Regions from separate parts of the Homo sapiens genome. Here region 1 is linked to region 2. The links are contacts of gene promoters, found by promoter capture Hi-C in blood cells and fetal thymus (Javierre and others, 2016). All regions are on one chromosome and are shown on one strand. The core of a region is centred on a gene start or on the middle of the fragment in contact, and the rest is flanking DNA. Distances in the headings are between cores, read along the strand shown. Region 1 overlaps CCSER2 (coiled-coil serine rich protein 2). Region 2 holds the start of LRIT1 (leucine rich repeat, Ig-like and transmembrane domains 1).

Evidence for each region. The method cuts DNA at HindIII sites, captures the fragments that hold promoters and counts their contacts. A CHiCAGO score of 5 or more calls a contact.
Region 1: a contact is called between a fragment that was not itself captured here and the fragment with the promoter of LRIT1 in region 2, in 1 of 17 cell types (activated CD4 T cells). The highest score is 5.5, in activated CD4 T cells.

Annotation. Positions count from the first base shown.
Region 1 is chr10:84,475,610-84,482,298 of GRCh38, forward strand. CCSER2 (coiled-coil serine rich protein 2) reads left to right here. Exons shown (of 10, transcript NM_001284240.2): 9 at 1,966-2,055. Among named protein-coding and RNA genes, the nearest start is that of CCSER2, 150 kb to the left of the region's middle. The HindIII fragment of the contact is 666 bases long and covers 2,223-2,888 here.
Region 2 is chr10:84,236,397-84,243,479 of GRCh38, forward strand. It overlaps LRIT1 (leucine rich repeat, Ig-like and transmembrane domains 1), which reads right to left and starts at 5,150. Exons shown (of 4, transcript NM_015613.3): 1 at 4,922-5,150; 2 at 824-1,290. The coding sequence starts at 5,043. The HindIII fragment of the contact is 15,150 bases long and covers 1-6,165 here.

The sequences.
Region 1 (6,689 bases), core at 1,306-3,805, 240 kb after region 2:
GTGTTTTTAGTAATATTATGAGTTTATCCAGGTGTGACCCCATTATAAATCAAAGAGCACCTGAATTTCTGGAATTGCAATAGGATGGAATAAGTAAAGTGTTTTCGTTACGATAGTGTTTTTAAATTATCTTTTCTGTTCCTCATATACCCCTCATATATGTTAAAAGTTGATCCTATTACAGTGAATTCCAAGAGACTGTAAATACTTGATTATATATTGAATTTGGGGGGTTATTTTGGAGTTAGAGTCTCACTCTGTCACCCAGGATGGAGTGCGGTGGTGCAATCTCAGCACACTGTGGCCTCAACCTCCCAAGCTCAGGTGATCCTCTCACTCAACCTCCCGGGTAGCTGGGACTACAGGCACATGCTACCATGCCTGGCTGTTTTTGTTGTGTGTTTTTTGTAGATACAGGGTTTTGCCTTGTTGCCCAGGCTGGTCTGGAACCCCTGGGCCCAAGCAATCCGCCAGCCACAGCCTCCCAAAGTACTGGGAGTACAGGTGTGAGCTACTGCACCCAGCCTATATTGAATTTTGTTTCAGTGACTGTCTCATTTGTTAGGAATGGGAAATATGTCTCTATGATAGACATTTTTGTTTTTAGATTTTATTTTGTATAAGGAAATTGTAATGATCTGATTGCAGTTAAGAAAAATTTTGAATATGGGTAAATATTATTAAAGTAGAAATGTATCATTTTAACCTGATGGAATAATCAAGAATTTTTTAGTTTCCTATGAGAAAGTATATCTACCTCCAGTGAGGTTGTTTAACAAATAATGTGGTTATTTTCTAGCTTGTCACTAAGGGTGAATTCTCTCTCTTTTTTTTTTTTTTTTTTTTTTTTTTTGAAATGGTGTCTCCCTCTGTCACCCAGGCTGGAGTGCAGTGGTGCAATCTGTGCTCACTGCAAGCTCTGCTTCCGGGTTCATGCCATTCTCCTGCCTCAGCCTCCGGAGTAGCTGGGACTACAGGTGCCCGCCACCACATCCGGCAAATTTTTTGTATTTTTAGTAGAGATGAGGTTTCACTGTGTTAGCCAGGATGGTCTGCTTCTCCTGACCTCGTGATCCGCCCGCCTCGGCCTCCCAAAGTGCTGGGATTACAGGCGTGAGCCACCGTGCCTGGCCGGGAGAATTCTTTTTATCAGTATTTTCATGATCTTTTTTGAAAGTGATGATTATTTGGGAAAGTTACTTTGTGTTATATAAATGAGTGTGCTTTGAGTGGAATCGTGTGGAGAAATCATTTGTGAACAGAAATGGTCAGATGGATCTTGTCAAAGGGCTGACACTCTTCAAAATATTTCAGTCCAGTAAAGTCAATACATCATGAAAGAGGCTTCATCACACTGCACATGAGAACAGACATCCTGACAAGTGGACTGGTGGTATTCAATGTCCAGCAGAGTCCCATTAAAATATGGATTTAAGAAACTGAGCTTTAGTGACTGTAGTACCATGACAGTTTAGGGAAATACTGTAAATTCTGCAGTTGTATTCTTTATATACTGAATATCCCTATATATTCTACATCCATATACTTAACTCTTTATATTGATATACATAAAATCATATATTGTATGTTTTATGGACAATATAAGAGATTGCCAAGGGTAATTTAGATTATTCAAAATTCTAACCTTACAGGCTGACTCTCAAACCCACTCCCTGAATAAGATGAGAGACCACTGAATAGACCTTATTGTTGGCTGTGATAACATTTTTTCTTCAAAAAAGTAGCCAGAACTATTTTGCCATGTGTGACTTTTTTGTTGATTTGGTTACATACCCCCTAAAAGAGCCCTGATTACCTCCTGTCATGGCTGTTAATTTTTTTTATAGGTAATTTAGTTTTGCTTGTCTCTTAGGTGTTTTATGTGTTTTCCTAAAGTTTCTCTTGTGTGTCTTGGTGTGTATATGCAGAATTAAACCAATGTAAAAATTTTGTGTTTTTGTTTAGGCAACTCAGCATATCTGCCACCAAAAATGTAAAGAGGAAAAATGCACTTATGCTGATAAATATACCCAAACACCCTGGAGACGAATTCCTGTAAGTAACATTTGCTCTTAGCCTCCTCTCCAGTCATTTGCTATTTTGATGTTTTATTTCACTCTTTTTACAGCAATCTCTAATGATTTTGAATCTGTCATGGCTGTTAATTTTTTTGTAGGTAATTTATTTTTGCTTGTCTCTTAGGTGTTTATGTGTTTTCCTAAAGCTTCTCTTGTGTGTCTTATGTAAGTGAATGTGCATTTTAATAGCTTTTTCATTCTACATACTATAGTTCATTTTATTTGCGTGTCTACTCTCCTCTTATTGCATGATTTATGAGAGTAGTTCCACATGCCTTAAAGGAAATAGCAGTCCTGTATGCAGTCATCCCACTTTAGCAGCATATGACACTTTGAAAATATATGATTTAGCATATTCCTTTTTTGTTAAAACTTTTCAAATATGTTTATTATAATTACTCAAATGTTGAGGGTGTTAGGAAATATAAATGCACGAAGATACAGACAATAAAAGTTATGTTTTAGGCAGAACTAGGGAATGGTTTATTTTAAATAGGAAGTAACTATGTATTCCATGCTTATTTGTTTTTCAAAAATGTTATATCTCAAAACATGTTTAGTGCTAAAAATACTCTATCATTTAATCTGAGTTCTCAGAACTTAGTGCAGGATGTGTGTGAGCCAGAGAATTATCATATGGACATTAGTCATTCTGCTGTTGTTTGGGGCCAGGTAGTAGACATTTCTTGTTAAGAGATTGCCTAATAAGTCAGCCTTGACTCTTTTGCCTTATATTTAGGAGTGGAATCCTAGTAACACAAAGGAACAGAGAAATATAATGGCTAATATAATCAGCAATTCAGTTTATAAAGCTTAGCCATAAGCCTTTAAAGTTTATAAAAGAGTTTTGTTTCTTTTCATCTAACAAGTATTTTTTTTGTGCTCTGTATAAGATACAATGGTAGGAATTAATTTATTCAACAAAAGTTTGATGATCCCCTTTCATCCCAGATATTTGGCTTTCAAACTAGAAGTGGGGAATTAGGGAAGGAAATACAGACAAATAAGGATTCCTCTGTTTATAAGTACTTCTTAAGAAATTGGGAATGCATTGATGTAGTTAAAGTGCTGTGTAAGTCTATAAGGTTCAAAGGATGTGGGAAAGTCTAGTTGAAAGAATCAAGGAGCTTGGTGAAGAAAATGAAGGTTGTGTTTGAATCATAGAAAGCAAAAGATACCAACAGAAAAAGATGATGTGATATTATTTAATGTCAAAGGCGGTGGAAGCTCATCTGTTTGCAGACAGTTGTTTAATAGAAGACCATGCCCCTTGCTTCTAGATGGAAGTTTGGGCTTTCCAGGTGTCTCCATTTACCCCATAGGGATGTTATGCCTTATAATTGTACTACTAAGAAGACTGGTGATTCCATTAAGCATGATAAGTTCCATTTTGCCATCCTCATGGAAGTCTTTATACCACCTCTGGCTCCTTCAGCCTCACTGTTCTGGAAACTGGATGTTAGTCTTCCTCCTCATCAGACAAAAGTAACTATAAAAAAAGTAACTATAAAAGTTACTATAGGAATCATCTGGCCAAATACCTTTGTTTTGTAGATAAGGTAGCAAAAGCTGGGGAGATTAACTGGCATAGCAAAGTTCCCATAATTAATAAGTGGCTGAGCTAGTACTATAACTTAGGACTCTTGACTGCTAGTTCTAGGTTCTTTTCCCCAAAAGCACATTGAAGAGCCTTTGAAGGAGAGTGGTTTGCTGCCAACAGCAGCAGAGCAAAAATTTGAATGTATTGAGATTTGTCCAAGGGGATTTTGTGTCACTTAATGGCTGCAAATAAGATCTCTGAAGTAGAGAATCAACAGGAAATAAGAGGAAGAAATATAGTAGTAGAAAAGGGGAAAGGAGGAAAAGCAGATATTCACTTGCTTATTCAGCAGATATTTATGTGCCTACTTCATGCCAGGCACTGTATTAATTTGGATGTGTAAATATAAAGAAGAATATAAAAATACATGTGTAAATATAAAGTTCCATCCCTCAAGATGCTTGTAGAAACCTCCAGTGTGCTTAAATGATAGTAAGCTCACTCTTTTTCTGCATGTGAAGAAGCTAAGACTAAGAAGTGACTTATGCAAGTGTTTACACAACTTGTATACAGCAGTCTTATTTTAGTTGCTTTTCTTTTGAATGGTTGCAGGAGGGTGAGGGGGCTAGAAGGAATAGAGAAGAGAAAAGGATCATAGCTCTGGGAAGGGAGGACAGAGGCTTAATCTTAGTGAGAGATCACAATAAGGACTTAACTTCCCTGAGAGGAAAAAAAACAGGTGCCCAGGTTTGCACTGCATGGTAGAAGACTTAGCAGTATACTGTGATAATCCATAGAAACATACTTGTATTTTAAAAGTTATTTAATTTATTTTGAGACAGGGTCTTGGTCTGTCACCCAGGCTAGAGTGCAATGGTGCAATTATGGTCCACTATAGCCTTGACCTCCTGGGCTCAAGTGATCCTCCTGCCTCAGCCTCCCAAGTATCTGGGACCACAGGTGTGCACCACCATGCCTGGCTAATTTTTTTATTTTTTGTAGAGACAGGGGTCTCACACTCCTGGGCTCAGGTGATCTTTTTGCCTCAGCCTCCCCAAATGCTGGGATTACAGACATGAGCCACCATGCCTGACCACATACTTGTATTTTAAATTACTGAGAAAAAAGTATTTTTGGTTGAAAAGGCATAGTTTCAGTAAGAGTGTAATAAGAAAACTCCTCTACAACCAAGTTAGTTTCAATCTAATGTGAGTACAAAGAAATCTTTTGACATATTAAATTATGTAAGTCATTTTCTCAATAGAAATAATAAAATTCAATACCTCTCATTAAAAGCATGAAAAAATAGAATACTAAGAATACTTTATGAGTAACCTGAGGCCAAAATATGTACGTTTAAAAGAGAAGTACTGTAAAGTGGATTTTTCCTTTCCTATTTTTATTGAGAGATAACGATATATTTATTCTATAGCAAATATAGAAAATAGAGAAGCAAAACAACTTAAGAAAAATTTAAAGTACTTAAATCATACAAGCCAATGACAGTCATTGTTAACATTTTATATATGGTCTTCCAGCCTTGTTTGGTGTTGTGTGTATATGTGTATGTGCCATCTGTCATCTCTATTTAGATGGGATTATGTTGTATATGTGGCATTTTAACCTACGTAGGTAGTGGTGATGGTGGTTGCTATTAATATTTGGTTTGATTTTTTTACTAAACCAAAATGAAGAAATGCATTACCTTTAATCAAGTTAAGGAATTAATTCCTTTACTGGATGGTCTTTGTAAGGTTCTTGAAATAAATTACTACAGTTTTTTTTCTGAAAGGTTTATACAGGCTTATACTACCACCAACTAAGTATGACCAGAAAGTGGCTTGGTGGCCGTGATGTTAGGTTGTGTGATTCAAGTGTTTGATGTCATTAGTTTATTTAAAAAAAGCCCCTGATATTTCCCTCCACAAACGAGGAAATACAAGGGCAGGAGGGTTACCCCTTGTGCCCCACACTATCATTTCAGGTGGTACTGGGAAGCCACTCCCAACTATTTATGTTATGACCATTCCTGTTATGTAATGTTTTCTTACCTTACAAATTCTTTCTTCCTCCTGGCCTGAAAACCATTTTATCATGCTATTTTCTGCATATATTCAACCTCAGCTTTTGTGTATATCAATACACAAAATTTTTTATATATTTTATATATATTGATTTTATATATATTGATCCTCAGAATTTTAGGAGTTTTTTTCTGCCTGTAGTAAAATTTGGCTTTCATGCTACAGGTGCTTTTGGTGTTAGAACTGTACTGATAAAGATCAAAACTGTTTGGGTTTGGTTTGGTTATTATTTGTGAGACTGAACCCAGCAAGGGAATAGTGGCTAGTCACCTGGTGGGTGCTCTTCATTTAGGGCAAGACAAAGGTTTCTACTACCGTAGGGAGTTGCCTAAGCCATGCTGTAGGCATAGTACAGGATGTTTTTAAGTATAAGTTTTTAAGAACAGTGTTTTCAGCATTGAGGACCAGAGTGTGAAGCACGTCTTAGTGGAGTAAGGGGTCTATCTTCTGCTTGGGAAAGCAATAATGTAGTGTTATAAACTCCCCTGAGCCTTGCATTATAAAAAGAGGGCAGCCATAGGACCGTATTCCAGAATTGAGAATGCCCTACTCTAGAGCGGCACAGTCCTATACAACTTTCTGTGCTGTCCATTGTAGTAGCCTGTAGCTACATGTGACTGTTGAGCACTTGAAAATGAAGGAAGAGAATTTTAAATTTTGTTTAGTTGTAATTAATTTAAATGTAAATAGTCACATGTAGCTAATTGACATCATTTTGGACAAAGCAGCCCTGGACCTAATGATATCTACTTACATGGATATGGAAAGCTACCTAGAACAATAAGTAAAGGGCAAGTCAGTAAAAGCAGTTTTCAGAAGAAATGAAGGAAAATAAAAAACATGGAGTTCAGATTTAGGTGGAGGAAAAAAGAGGGAAAAGAGATAAGAATGAGCCGTAAGAGCAGAAAATGATACTTCCAGAGGAAAGTGGGGCAATTATTTTTCTTATCTGAGGGGCAAAATACCCGGATACAATGGTGAAATGAG
Region 2 (7,083 bases), core at 3,900-6,399:
CTAAATAAACTATAGTATAAATATGTTTATAACATAGTGCAGATATAGTATACTATAGAATATTGTGCAGTAGTTTTAAAAATAAACTTGATCCATTTGTAGTAATTTAGAAAGATCTACGAGATATAGTGTTGGGTCAAAAAGTTAGCGTTGGTTAGTATGTATGACAAAATTTTATGTAAAACATACACATAACTTTTCTGAATCCATGTATGTATGTGTGTATATGTATATACATATGCATATGAAATGTATCTGAACAGATAGGGAGCTTGCATATAAATATGATAATAGTAACTACTTTTGGGAAGGGGTTGGAATAGGGAGAGAGGACAGAAGGGTCTTTAACCTCTTCTGCAATATTTTAAACATTTGTATTTATTCATGTATGAGTTGTATAATTCAAATCAATTTTCCAGAATGAATTATGCCCCTTCTGTCATTCTCAGGACCAGGCAGGTGCCTTGGGCAGGAAAGATCTGGTTCACATGGTAAGCTGTTGGTTTGTTAAGAACAGGAAGGAACCGAAAAAATAGCAGGTCCAGCTGGTGTAGTGTACTAACCCATTCAGCTCTGAGTTGGGAAATTGAGTCTCAGGGGCCTTCTCCTGGTTGTATGACCTGGAAAGACCTCTCTTATGACTGCGATATGAACTGCCACAGTCTGGCTTGTGGATTGAGCTCCTAAACCCGCCGCTCTTGTGGATCTCACTGTCTTTGCTCAAACCTGGAAGGAAGGTATGATTTCAATTTTCCAAATAATCGAAACTCAGGGAAGCGTGGTAACTTGCCTAAGACCCCAGGTGAAGGTTGCCGACCCTTACCTAGGACCCGCCTGGGGTGGTGGCCGGGAGGAAAGATACCGGTCTCCAGGTGAGCCCAGGAGACGATGAGCTCCTGCGGGAGCCTCATCAGCTGGTTGCTGGAGAGGTCGAGGAAGGTGAGGTTCTCCAGGAAGCGCGCGGCCTCAGCGGGCACAGCCGAGAGGCGGTTGGCCTGCAGGTCCAGCAGCCGCAGCTTGGGGGCGTCCCTGAGCGCCGCCCAGGGGAAGGCGGCCAGGCGGTTCCCGGGCAGCCGCAGCTCCCGCAGGCGTCGCAGGCCCCGCAGCATGAGGGCGTTGAGCTCGCTGAGGGCGTTGTAAGGCAGCCACAGCTGCTCCAGGCGGCCCAGGGGCCTGAAGGCCTCGCCAGGAACCCTGCGTATGGCCGTCCGCTCCAGGCGCAGTCTGGAGGTGTCCGGGGGGATGGACGCCGGGGGCAGGGTCATGTCGGGGTCGTTGCACACTACTGTCCTGCTGGCAGAAATGAGGGATAGTTGAGCAAGGATCCTGCCGGGTCTGGGATCTCCCACCGCTACCTCCCTTCGCGAGGCCTCCAGTTCTGCCTGTTATCACCGGACACCCACACCAGAGTCCAAGCCATGACGGGGACCTGGAGAGGGGCCCGGAGTAAGCAGACCTACTTTTCCCTTTGCAGAGGTCTTGCTCTCAGAGCCTTTCACAATGGTCCCAGGAAGGTGATTTGGTCTTCACGGTCCGGCAAGACCCCACCCTTACACTGTTACGACCCATAACAGCCCGCAGCACCCACAGTGCACTAAGAATGAACAGCATTAATAAACCCCATGATCGCGTTGTGCACTGTTGCTTTGCAAATATGCGTTAGAAGTGTTCGTTTGGCCGGGCACAGTGGCTCACGCCTGTAATCCCAGCACTTTGGGAGGTGGAGGCGGGTGGATCACCTGAGGTCAGGAGTTCAAGATTAGCCTGGCCAACATGGTGAAACCTTGTCTCTACTAAAAAATACAAAAATTAGCCAGGCATTGTGGTGCACCCCTGTAGTCCCAGCTACTCGGGAGGCTGAGGCGGGACAATCGCTTGAACCTGGGAGGCAGAGGTTGCAGTGAGCCGAGATCACCCCACTGCACTCCAGCCTGGGTGACACAGCAAGACTGTCTCAAAAAAAAAAAAAAAGTGTTCGTTTGTTAAATTATACCTCAATTTTTGTAACTGTTTTGGTTTATCGTTTAACAAAAAATATACCAAGGACATCAAAAATGAAACCACCTCAAGTCTCTCCCACCTCTGCGGAGCCATGCGATCGATGATCAAGTTGTTTAAGAGCCAGGACTTGGCAGCCCCACAGCTGGATTCACACCTGGGCTCTTTGCTTGCTGGCTGTGTGTCCTTGAGTACATTAGGTAACCTCTCTTTTCCTCAGTTTTGCCATCAAATAGACCCCACAAGGTGGTTATGGGGTTTAAATGAGGTAATGCATGTGGAAGCCCAGCACATTGCCTGCCACCCTGCATGAGCCCAAGGGTATGGATCACTGTCATCAATGTTTGCATCTCAGCACTGCAAGTAGATCGGGTCAGTCTTATCAGCTCTTCTACCCAAACCACGACTTCTTAAACCTTATTCCATTAAGTTTGAGACTAAAGCAGAGGATAGAGAGATAATAGGAGGCAGTCCCTGCCCTCAAGAAGCCTACATTTCAGGGCTATGTTTTATACTACGTAAACTGAAAACAAAATCCTAAGCCCCCCAGCCACTGAACAGGCCCTTCTAAGGGAGGTTGTTCTCTTGTAATAGCATAACCTACTGGTGATATCAGGCTTTCCTGGAGGTGCACACACATATCACCAGCATCCCTCAGCATAAGTCTATGCTCCACTTAAAGGCAGCTGGGCTGGGCTTGTTTTTTCTTGTAAACAGTGTCCACAAACAGCACGGATATTCTTACTCACTCCTTTTGAGCAAATATACATGGAACTCTTACTAAGTGATGAGCAATTCAGAAGAGAATCAGCCTCATAGCCCCTGTCTCCATACAGTGTGTAATCTAGCTCAGGAAGAAAGAGCATTTACAGCAATGATATTTCCAGATACTACAATAGGTTCGGGCAGGTGTGATAGCTCATGCTTGTAGTCCCAGCTACTCAGAAGGCTGAGGTGGGAAGGTGGCTTGAGCCTAGGAGTTGGAAGCTACAGTGAGCTATGATTGTGCCACTGCACTCCAGCCTGGGTGACAGAGCAAGACCCTGTCTCAAAAAAAGTAATACAGGTTTGGGTATTGCAAGGAGGAAGGTCTGGATGTAGGTGAGAGAAAGACAGGTGATTGGAAAACTTATCTTGAACGGGAGAGAAAACGGTAAAAGGGGCATTTAAAGGAAACCATAAGAACTCAATGCAAGCCTACACCACAGCTCAAACCTCCAGCACAACTCCGGGTGGGGTAAAACCAGAGGCAAACTGGGACAAACAGCATGGGCACAAATCCATTCAGATGCATAGCCCAGCTCCTCCCAGGCAACCCCAGTGCCCACAGGCACACACTTCACGATACAACAGCTCAGACATAAAGGCTGGGCTCTCTGAGAGGCCCAGGTTAGAGAGGGATCTGAGGAAGGCTTCTGACATGCAGAACGAGCTTTGGTCTAACTGCACAGTCTGTGCCCATAGCCACAGGGGACCTCAGGGCCCGCTACCACCTTTCATGGCCTCATAGGACCCTCCATGCAGATGGGCTGGTGCATGTTAGCCATGGGATAGTCAGGCGGGTAGAACCAAGAGCTCTGGCTTCAGAGAAGGGAATGCCCACTGACTTACATTAGCGGCCCTAGAAACTCATTTTCCATCTTAAGATTAACTCTGCTGCCTGGAACTTACCACTGGTCCCTGCCCATGGCAGCATCACCAGATAAGTGTTCTGAAAACTGAATCGGAATGCCTGGGTTCCAGGACCGGTTTTGTCAATGATGCTGTGTGGCTTTCAGCCCTATGCCTTCTACGGGTGGTGGGAGGCTTTTTGTCACTCCAGTGACACTGCCCAGGCTGGGAACAGCAGGCTGTTCAGGGCTCAGCCTGGCTTCTACTGGGGACAGGACCCTTACACTTCATATGAGTTGATGCCTTGGACACTTGGGCTACAGTGGAGCTCATTCTGGTTCTCAGATCATTTGAGGTGTCTTTTCTTAGTGGTTCTTCTCCATTCTCCTCTCATCCCCCAATCAACTCGACATTCATTGCCAAGATTATTAAAAGGGTAGCTCCAATAACATTGTTCCCAGGATCAGAAACCATCAGTGGCTCAGAAACCATGCAGAGGTCATTAATGGATAAGCTAAAGAAGTTGGAGAAAAGATGATTTAAACGTTGCTAAAGAAAAGAAGAAAATGAGCAGTAGTGGAAGAGCAAGGGTCCACAAGCCACAGTGGCATGGGAATGTCCCATGAAAGGAGAGGAGGAGAGAATGGAGGTGCTCTGAGGGATCAGACAGAGGGTGGGGAAAGTCAAGGAAAAGGCTGGGGATGGAAGGAAGCATGCTTGTCATGGGATGGGCACTCCTGGCTTTTGGAGCACTCATAAAAAGGTATTGAGGCTGAGGCTCCTGGGATCTGGCCAGCGAAGATGGAGAGGAGGAAGAGAATGAGAGGCAAGTGGTCCCATCATGGGTGGGGTTGTAGGAAATGCCTGGGATATGATTGAATATTGTAGAGAGGTCAGGCAAGAGAGTGCAAGTGGCCTGGGAAAGAAGGGGCTGGGGAAATATAGAAAAGAAGAGGGAATAGAAAAAATAAAAGAGAAGAAAAAGCAGTAAGGGAGGAGATTTCCTGGACCTTTAAGGAGGGCTCTTCACCAGGAGCCTGGAGGAGGACTTAGGAAGGACTTCTTAGAACTGACATACTTGTGCCTCACCCTCGGGCCCATGTGTATAGATACCTGGTACCTCTCGAATAGAGTCACCCCCTTGCCTGCTGGAAAACAATGCAGCACAGTCCACCCCATAGGATCCCTGGTCCTCAAGGGCCAAGGGAGATGAAGACCTCACCCAGGGCCCCAGCTCCAACTCCTCCCAACCCAGCCTAGCTGGCAAAGCAATGGAGGCTGGGCTGCCCGTCCCACGCACCCGGTACCATACCTGGCCTTGCTGCCATCACCCATGATATGGAGGCTGCAGCTGCATTGAGAGGGGCAGAAGCCCCGGGCCTGGGGGGGCCACGCAAGGGCCAAGAGCCAGAGCATGCCTAATGCCACCCTCATGGCTCCTGGCTCCTCTCTGGCCCAGGCAGGGGCCTGTCCCTGGACCGCTCCGTCCCACCGGCCCAGCAAGCTCAGCAGCTGCCCACTTGCTCGCCAGCCCCTTACACCCCCTCCTGAGGCCATCGGATAAACATGGACAGACTGGGGATTAGGGAGGGGAGTCCCAGCCGCAGCACTCAGAGGCTTATTGCTTTCTGAATCACTCAGTCCTGAGGGTAGGGGCGGGGGACCCCCTTCCATAGCAATATCCACAGGCCCAGAGAGGCCAGGGCAGGGCACAGCAAAGCAAGACAAGTAGGCAGCTTTCCAGAGGCGAGCAGCCATGGGACTGTCATCTGCAAAGCATCCCATCCCAACAAGGCCACGGACAACACAGACCCCACTGGAGTGCCAGGGAAGATGGAGAAAGAACCCCCGCCTCAGTAAGGGCCTTTGGAAATTCTTTCCTGTGACACTGTCTCATAGCAAAAAAGCAGTGAAATGAAGCAACTCTTCCTGATGGTGCTAAAGGCATTGGAAGGAGGCTAAGCTCTGGACCCAGGCTTCCTGGGGTCAAATCCCAGCTGCTCCATTAAGGGGCTGTGACCTTGGGTGAGTCACATTATCTCTTGGCCTCTGTGTCCTTATCTGACAAAGAGAAATAAAGTTACTTCATGCAGGGTGTTTGTGAAAATCAAACTCAAATTCCAAGGCCTTGACAGCCTGTGGGAACAGAAGCTCTCTCACAAGTTGTAAGTGCCCAGTTTCACTGGTACTTATAAGACCCTACTTACAGAAGAACTGGACAGATTCAGATATTTTGGGGAGACATCAGAGGTGTCTCTCATGAGCCCACAAACTGTCCCAGGCTGCCAGGCAAACAGCTGCCTGCCTTGAGTGCCCCATGGATATGGACTCAACACACTACTATTTCAGCTGAGCCCTTCTGGGCATTGCTACGAATGCCAAAGGTGGAGATGTCTCCACATAAGGGACAAGGGCACCCCTCTCCTCAAGGTGCCCTACTCCAAGGAGGGCCCCAGAGAGGTAGCTCAGAGAGGTCTTAGAGAAGGCACTTTCAGGTTTTTTTGGAGACAGGACCCCAACCTCTAATAAGGGCCTTTGGAAATTCTCCATCCATAAAGCTTTGTTTTGCTTTATAGGGACAGGGTTGCTCTGTCACTCAGAGTGGAGTGCAATGGTGTAATCATAGCTCACTGTAGCCCCGAACTCCTGAGCTCAAGCCATCCTCCTGCCTCAGCCTCGCAAGTAGCTGGAACTGCAGGCAACCACCACCATGTTTGGCTATTTTTAAAAAATTATTTTTTGCAGTCAGGGTCTTGCCATGTTGCCCAGGATGGTCTCAAACTCCTGGCCTCAAGCGATCCTCCTACCTCAGTCTCCCAAAGTGCTGGGATTACAGGCCTGAGCCACTGCACCCAGACTAATTTCAATTTTTACTTATTCTCTCCTAACCCTATCTCGCCCCACCATATCTACTCAAGATGCCAGTGGGGACTGACCAGGGATGATTCCCAGCAGTAGACACTCAGTCGACTCATTCATTCATTCTTCACATTTGACCCTGAGGCATTGTTCTCTGGTCCAGCATGCCCTACCTATGTTGTTTGGCTTTTCTAGAAGGTTCCCCAGTCCTTCATGCCTGTGGCTCCAGGCAGGCCTAGACCAGTGAGGTATGACCTGCAAAGATATCTGGGGCCCCAGTGCACACATAAAATGCCTAGCTCGGAGCCAGGTCTGTTTCAACAATACTGGCTTCTCATTCTTTCCTTCCTTCCAATGCAGCCAGTAGGATTTTCTCAGTGCTTCCCAGCTATACTTCCACCTCCCCAAACCCAGCCGTCAGCTTGCCTGTTCCCACATCTCTGCTTCTTCCTCCTTGTGTCTTTTGCCCAAATGAACTTTACCCTTTAATCTTGGCCTTGCCCTGCTTTATCTCCTCTCATGAAGGCTTTTGTGATCTCGAAGGCATGAAAAAAGGACTGACATATGTATTAACCAACACCATAAGGTAGAAATTGAGACAGAAGGCCAGGCAGG